Linked DNA regions of Homo sapiens: region 2 is linked to region 1. Evidence: promoter capture Hi-C in human tissues and cell types (Jung and others, 2019). All regions are on one chromosome and are shown on one strand. The core of a region is centred on a gene start or on the middle of the fragment in contact, and the rest is flanking DNA. Distances in the headings are between cores, read along the strand shown.

Region 1 (2,890 bases), core at 178-2,677:
AGGTGGCAGAAATTTTATCAAGGTATTTTATTCATCGCCTAGGCTCATCCTATTGTGTAAAAAGCCCAACTGTGTCTTTGGCAAGTCCAGTTGATCTATTTCCTTCTAGCTCTCAATATATGGCTTCCCCACAGGTATGCCAGACCATTTATGCTGCTTCTTAAGGTCTGTCCATCAGGGAACGGTCCATCTGGTTGATCACAACAAGACATCAGCATCATCACGTGCTATTCGTCTCATAGTTATATGCATTTATAACAAGATAGCAAAGAAACTAGAGTGTGTACCCACCCCCCCAGCATACACTTTGCTCCAATTCTAACAATACAGTTTTAGGCTCTGAAATCTAAGCAGATGATATTTAGAGCAGGCAAGCCTTTAATGATCTTCGAATCTGCACTCCATCAGACTAACTTTATAGTGCTACCATGTCTGGGGAGTTCCTTAAGAGCGGTCCCACAGTAACTGGGGAGCTCCTTAAGAGCAAAAGCCATGTTTTATTTGTGCTATATGACCCCCAGAGTGCTGTGTACTGGCTCACGTGGCTTGTGTTCCCAGAATGAAGTTAATAATGCCAGAACAGCTTAAGAACATACCAGCAAAAGGAAGCAGTCTGTGCCACATGGTTCTGGTTCAATCTTGATTTCTTTATTCTTGCGTTTATATACATTAGGGGTGGCATGAAAAGCTGGAAAACAAAAACTGTCTTGTTGCCAGTGGTCTATCCACTTGACAAGATGGGGAGAAACAAAAGTGAATTAGAGAGCTATTGTAGGAGTTAGAATTCGATATAAACGGCTACCATCAGGGTGCACAAAATTCAGTCATTTCTGACATCAACACAATGCTTTCAAAGCTAAGAGGTACTGAGGGACAGATAAGTTGCTAGTTAGTCTGTCCCTATCATGCAAAGCATGTTGCACTATAATTGAGCAAGGGAAAATAGAACTGGCCCTTTGTAAAACGTTAGAACAGAAGCCAGGAACTCTATACGAGAAACCAGAACAAAGAGAAGGAAATGGTGGCTGGGGATGGAAGAGAGGAGAGCATTTCAAACAGAGTAGCCCCACTCACGGTGAAGGAAGCAGTCGTATTTAAAGCAGCGCCGGCAAAAAAGTGTGTGGAAGGAGTGCAGAGATTGCTCCCGCTGCACAGACTTGGCATTGGGGCCATCGATGTTGGGTGTGCACTGAGGGGGAAGTGCATTGGGGTCTGACATCTCTGTTAGTTCTCGATACCTATTTAAGAAAAGAGAGATAAGAGTTCCTCCGAGGAACTGCCTCCACTGAGGAAATACAGATTGGGTACTGACAGTAGCTCACCTACGGTCTGCCAAGGGAGGATGGGTGTTTTTTATAGGTCTGGTTGATAAGAGAATGGTAGATAACTAGAGTGGGTCCACCATTGTAATTATGCTGGGTTGGGCAAATGTTGGAAAGTAAGGGGAGGGAAGGATTTGTTAAGATGGTGCTGGAGTTAACTCTCCAGAAAAATGGCAGAGTAAATGTTCTCTGCCCAGACTCACTCAAAAGCCAGTATACGATGACCCTTAATATAGTAAGGGGGGCATTTAGAGGTAATTGAGTAAGCAAGAAATAATCAAATTGCGGGCAAATCATAATGCCCTTACCATAAACAAAGCTTTTTACTAACCAAAAATTAGGAGGGAATAAAGGTTTTGTCCGAGCACTCTGTATATGGCCTAAGTGGGACAGCTTTCCCTACCTCTCCTTCATGTCATCTGGGACACCATTCTCAGGGAACATTGAGGCAATTGCACTGAAGATCATGTCATTTGGGAACTGTTTCTTGGAACTCTTTTTGTTGCCTGAATTGGAAATGATAAAAAGCTCCTGAGTGCGATTATCAGAACACGTAAACAAATCTGTGTGATCTTTTTTCCTTTTGTCATAGCATTTTGATTACAGCTGCTTTGTTAACCTAACCACTGATTGTTTGGAGATATATAAACATCAGTGCTATCTGGACTTATCTGATATATGCTACCAGTAAATAAGGAAGTTAGAGTAGTCTACATATTAACAACAAAATCCACAGTCCCAATTAGAATCTGGATGTGAGGTGGCTCACGCCTGTAATCCCAGTCAGTACTTTGAGAGGCCGAGGGGAGCGGATCACTTGAGGCCAGGAGTTTGAGACCAGCCTGGCCAACATGGTAAAACCCCAACTCTACTAAAAATACAAAACTTAGCTGGGCATGGTGGTGCATGCCTATAGTCCCAGCTACTTAGAAGGCTGACACACAAGAATCACTTGAACCAGGGAGGTGGAGGTTGCAGTGAGCCGAGATTGTGCCACTGCACTCCACCTTGGGTAACAGAGCAAGACTGTGTCTCAAAAAAATAATAAATAATAGATTTTAAAAATAAAAATAAGAATTTGGAGGTGAAAAGAGTGTTCATAGAGAGGCCTGAACATAGAAGAATCCTATCATGAAGTGGATGCTGAAGAACTACACTGATACTATAATTATGATACAATAAAAGAGAATACACTATGTCCCTGGACATATAGTATAATTAAACTATTAAATTTTAAATTAAACATTAGTGACATGGAAAAGTACTCATAAGATTAAATAAAAAGGGATATAAAATTTGATATATACATATATATAAATTGGCATGATCCCAATTTCACATGAGACATATAATTAGAAATGAATAGCAATGATTATTCTATCAGTTCTTCTACTTTCTTCTTCACCCAAGTCACAGCTATCTGAAGCTATCACTTAATGATCATGTTCTCCTTTTAAGTGAACCAACAAGAAGCACCAACAGCCTTTAATAGGCAACAAATCTTTCCAGTTCTTCCTTCTTCCCTATCCCTGTCACTTTAAAAAAGGAATAAGGGAGCCAGTGCTACG
Region 2 (2,890 bases), core at 177-2,676, 37 kb before region 1:
CGAGCGCGCTGCGCGTCGGGCTGCCAGGTGGGTGGCCAGGACCAGGCCATTGCCGGCCAGACCCAGCGCAGCCACGGTCAGGGAGACACTGGGTTGGAAGGCCCGGCTGAAGGCCTGGACATCGGCCTTGTAGCAAAGCTCCGGCAGTGGCTCAGCCGAGTATGCGTCCTCTTCATCCCCAGAGTAATGGCCCCAGGAAACCTGGGAGGGTCAAATGAGAGGCGGGATCTTATGAGACACATCTGACCACACAACTCCCCCGCCCACACTTGCCTTCCAAGCTGAGAGCTCCTGTGTGGCCAGATGTAACAGTACACGGGGAGACATAAGCTCTTCTCCAGACTCTTCCTAGCACACCTTCAGCAGGCCTTGGCTTCCCTTGCACCCCTCCTACCTCTGCTTCCAGCTTCCTGGGTGACCTTGAGCAAGCCACTTGCTCTTTCTAGACCTCAGTTACCTAACCTGTAATGTTGAGATTATAAATCCTGACCAGCCCACCTCTCAAGGTTTGCTGTGAAGATGGCAATATGGAAAATAATGGATGGGGAGAACCTGTGTTCTCCAAAGGCCATAATACAAAGTTTGTATTATTATTATTATTTATTATTATTATTATTGGAGACAGAGTCTTGCTCTGTCGCCCAGGCTGGAGTGCAGTGGCACGATCTCGGCTCACTGCAACCTCCGCCTCCGGGTTCAAGAGATTCTCCTGCCTCAGCCTCCCAAGTAGCTGGGACTACAGGCGCCCACCACCACGCCCAGCTAATTTTTGTATTTTTAGTAGAGATGGGGTTTCACCATGTTGGCCAGGATGGTCTCGAACTCCTGACCTCAGGTGATCCGCCCACCTTGGCCTCCCAAAGTACTGGGATTACAGGCCTGAGCTACCACGCCCAGCCCAAAGTTTGTATTATTAATAAATCCTACAGCTTCAGTTCCCTTTGCAGCGCCCTCTCCTGGAAGGATGCCCATATGCAGGCTTTGCCTCAGACCTGAGCCCTGGACTCCAACCTCCGTCTGGAGTGGGTTTCTGTTTCTCTTCTTTCCCTTCCATACCCACCTTCCCTGTACCTCCAATACCAGCACACTGAACCACTCATGCCAAGGGGGTCTCCAGGGTTGGGACTCAGGTTTTCAGGGCCCAGGTGGGACCCTGGACCTCTAGGTTCAACCCGCCTTTCCCCTCAGCCCTAGTCCCTGTCCCACAACCCCAGCCTCACACCACCAGCCCATTTATCTGGAGGACCCCTAGTCTGAGACAGCGCCAAGAATCCTGAATAAGCCATAGGATGGCAGAGGCCCATTGCCAGGTGGGGAATCCCATTCCTTCCCTGTCTCCTCCCTCTCTGTAACCCTTCTCCCCCTCCCTGCCCCCACTCCCACCTGCTCTGTGGCCTCCGTCCCCATCTCTGGCTACACAGGTTTCTGAGGTATAGCCACAGGGGGTAGAAGTTAAACTACTAGCGGGACAGGAAGGAAGAGGCGGGGAGAGGGGCCGAGAGGGAGGTGGGGATTAGGGTCTACGGGGTCACTTTCCCATTCCACCTCCTCCAAAAGACTTCACTCTCTTGTGCAGGATCTGGATTTTACGAAAAAAAAAAAAAGAAGAAGAAAGGAAGGAAAGAGGAAAGAAAGAAAGAAAGAAAGAAAAAAAGGAAGGAAAGAAAGAAAAAAGAATGAACGAAAGAAAGAAAAAATAATTTACTGTCTTTGTCAGTGAAGAAAGAACGGGCTTCGGAATATAATCATTTGCTGTGTGATATTGACTAAGTTTCTTGACCTCTCTGAGCCTGAGGTTTTTCATCTGCAAAGTGGAGTAGGGCAAAAATGCTAAATTCACAGTGCCCAGCACCACTCCTAGAGCATAATTTGCCTTCCGAAAATGTTAAGATTCTTTTACTTACCCTTCATTCCATTTCCAGGCACCCCTCCCCCAAACCACCTCCCTTTTCTTGAAATTTTCAGGATGCTTCTGGCCCTAGGTTCCCTGTCCTCACTCCTGTGGCCCTAGTCCCGGGCAGCCTCGGGTTACTTGGGGTTTTCCCGGTGGCGAGAGGCTCTCTACCCCCGCCCTTTCGCAGCAGGGCTGAGGCACGCGCTTGCGCGGGGTCCGGGAAACCGGCGCGTGCCAGGAGACAGAGGCTGGGGAAGGGGGGAGGTGAGAGGAAAGAGGGTGGAAAGGAGAGGATAGAGAGAGAAGAGCGGAGGACCAGGAACCAGAGAGAGAGAGAGAGAAAAGAGAGAGGAGAGACAGAGCGCTTGGGGGCGAAAGGAGAGAGGGAGGGAAGGGTGGGTAAGGAGGAGAGAGCGGTCTGCTGCAAACCCCAGGAGGAGAGCTTGGAGCCCAAGCCAGAACTCGAGCCCTAGCCGGAGCCGTTCACAGGGAGGCGGCTGCCGGGACCGTCAGCCCTGCATGATGCATCTCCGGCTCTTCTGCATCCTGCTCGCCGCGGTCTCAGGAGCCGAGGGCTGGGGCTACTGTGAGTGTTGGGCTTGGAGGCAGGTGGGGTTGGGCCCAGGAGTCCAGAGCCTGCAGGGCGGCCCCGAACCGCATTGCGGCTGGGTGGTCGCGGGTCCTTCCCGGCCGGCGCGCGCCCGCTGGCTCTCATCTTTTCCTGCCTCTCCCCCGCGCTCCGCATTGCAGCTCTGAGGCTGCCGCGCGCGCCCGGGGCTGGGGCTGGGCTCTGGGAAGAGGATGAAGTCAGCGGGCAGGGATTTGGGGTTGGGATCCAAGCAGGAGCTGGTGCCTGGGTTTGAGGCTAGGGCTGGGGGATAAGTGTATACTGGTGACCGATACTAGGATTAAGGTTTTGCCAGGGCTTAAGGCTGGACTTTGGAGCTGGCCAAGGGGTGGGGTTTGTGGCTAGGGCTGGGGTTTGTGGCTGGGGCT

Evidence for each region. Contacts are between HindIII fragments. The study calls those that stand out against the background at their distance.
Region 2: a contact is called between the fragment with the promoter of CCR10 here and a fragment that was not itself captured in region 1, in 1 of the 25 tissues and cell types used here (mesendoderm cells).

What each region holds. Positions count from the first base shown.
Region 1 is chr17:42,717,380-42,720,269 of GRCh38, forward strand. EZH1 (enhancer of zeste 1 polycomb repressive complex 2 subunit) reads right to left here. Exons shown (of 21, transcript NM_001991.5): 8 at 1,726-1,828; 9 at 1,075-1,238; 10 at 597-688. Among named protein-coding and RNA genes, the nearest start is that of MIR6780A, 11 kb to the left of the region's middle. The HindIII fragment of the contact is 8,991 bases long and covers 1-2,890 here.
Region 2 is chr17:42,680,417-42,683,306 of GRCh38, forward strand. It overlaps CCR10 (C-C motif chemokine receptor 10), which reads right to left and starts at 1,427. Exons shown (of 2, transcript NM_016602.3): 1 at 1,384-1,427; 2 at 1-201. The coding sequence starts at 1,407. It overlaps CNTNAP1 (contactin associated protein 1), which reads left to right and starts at 2,115. Exons shown (of 24, transcript NM_003632.3): 1 at 2,115-2,480. The coding sequence starts at 2,414. RefSeq lists enhancers at 1-429, 1,648-2,266, 2,210-2,259, 2,520-2,569 and a silencer at 815-1,109. The HindIII fragment of the contact is 6,302 bases long and covers 1-2,890 here.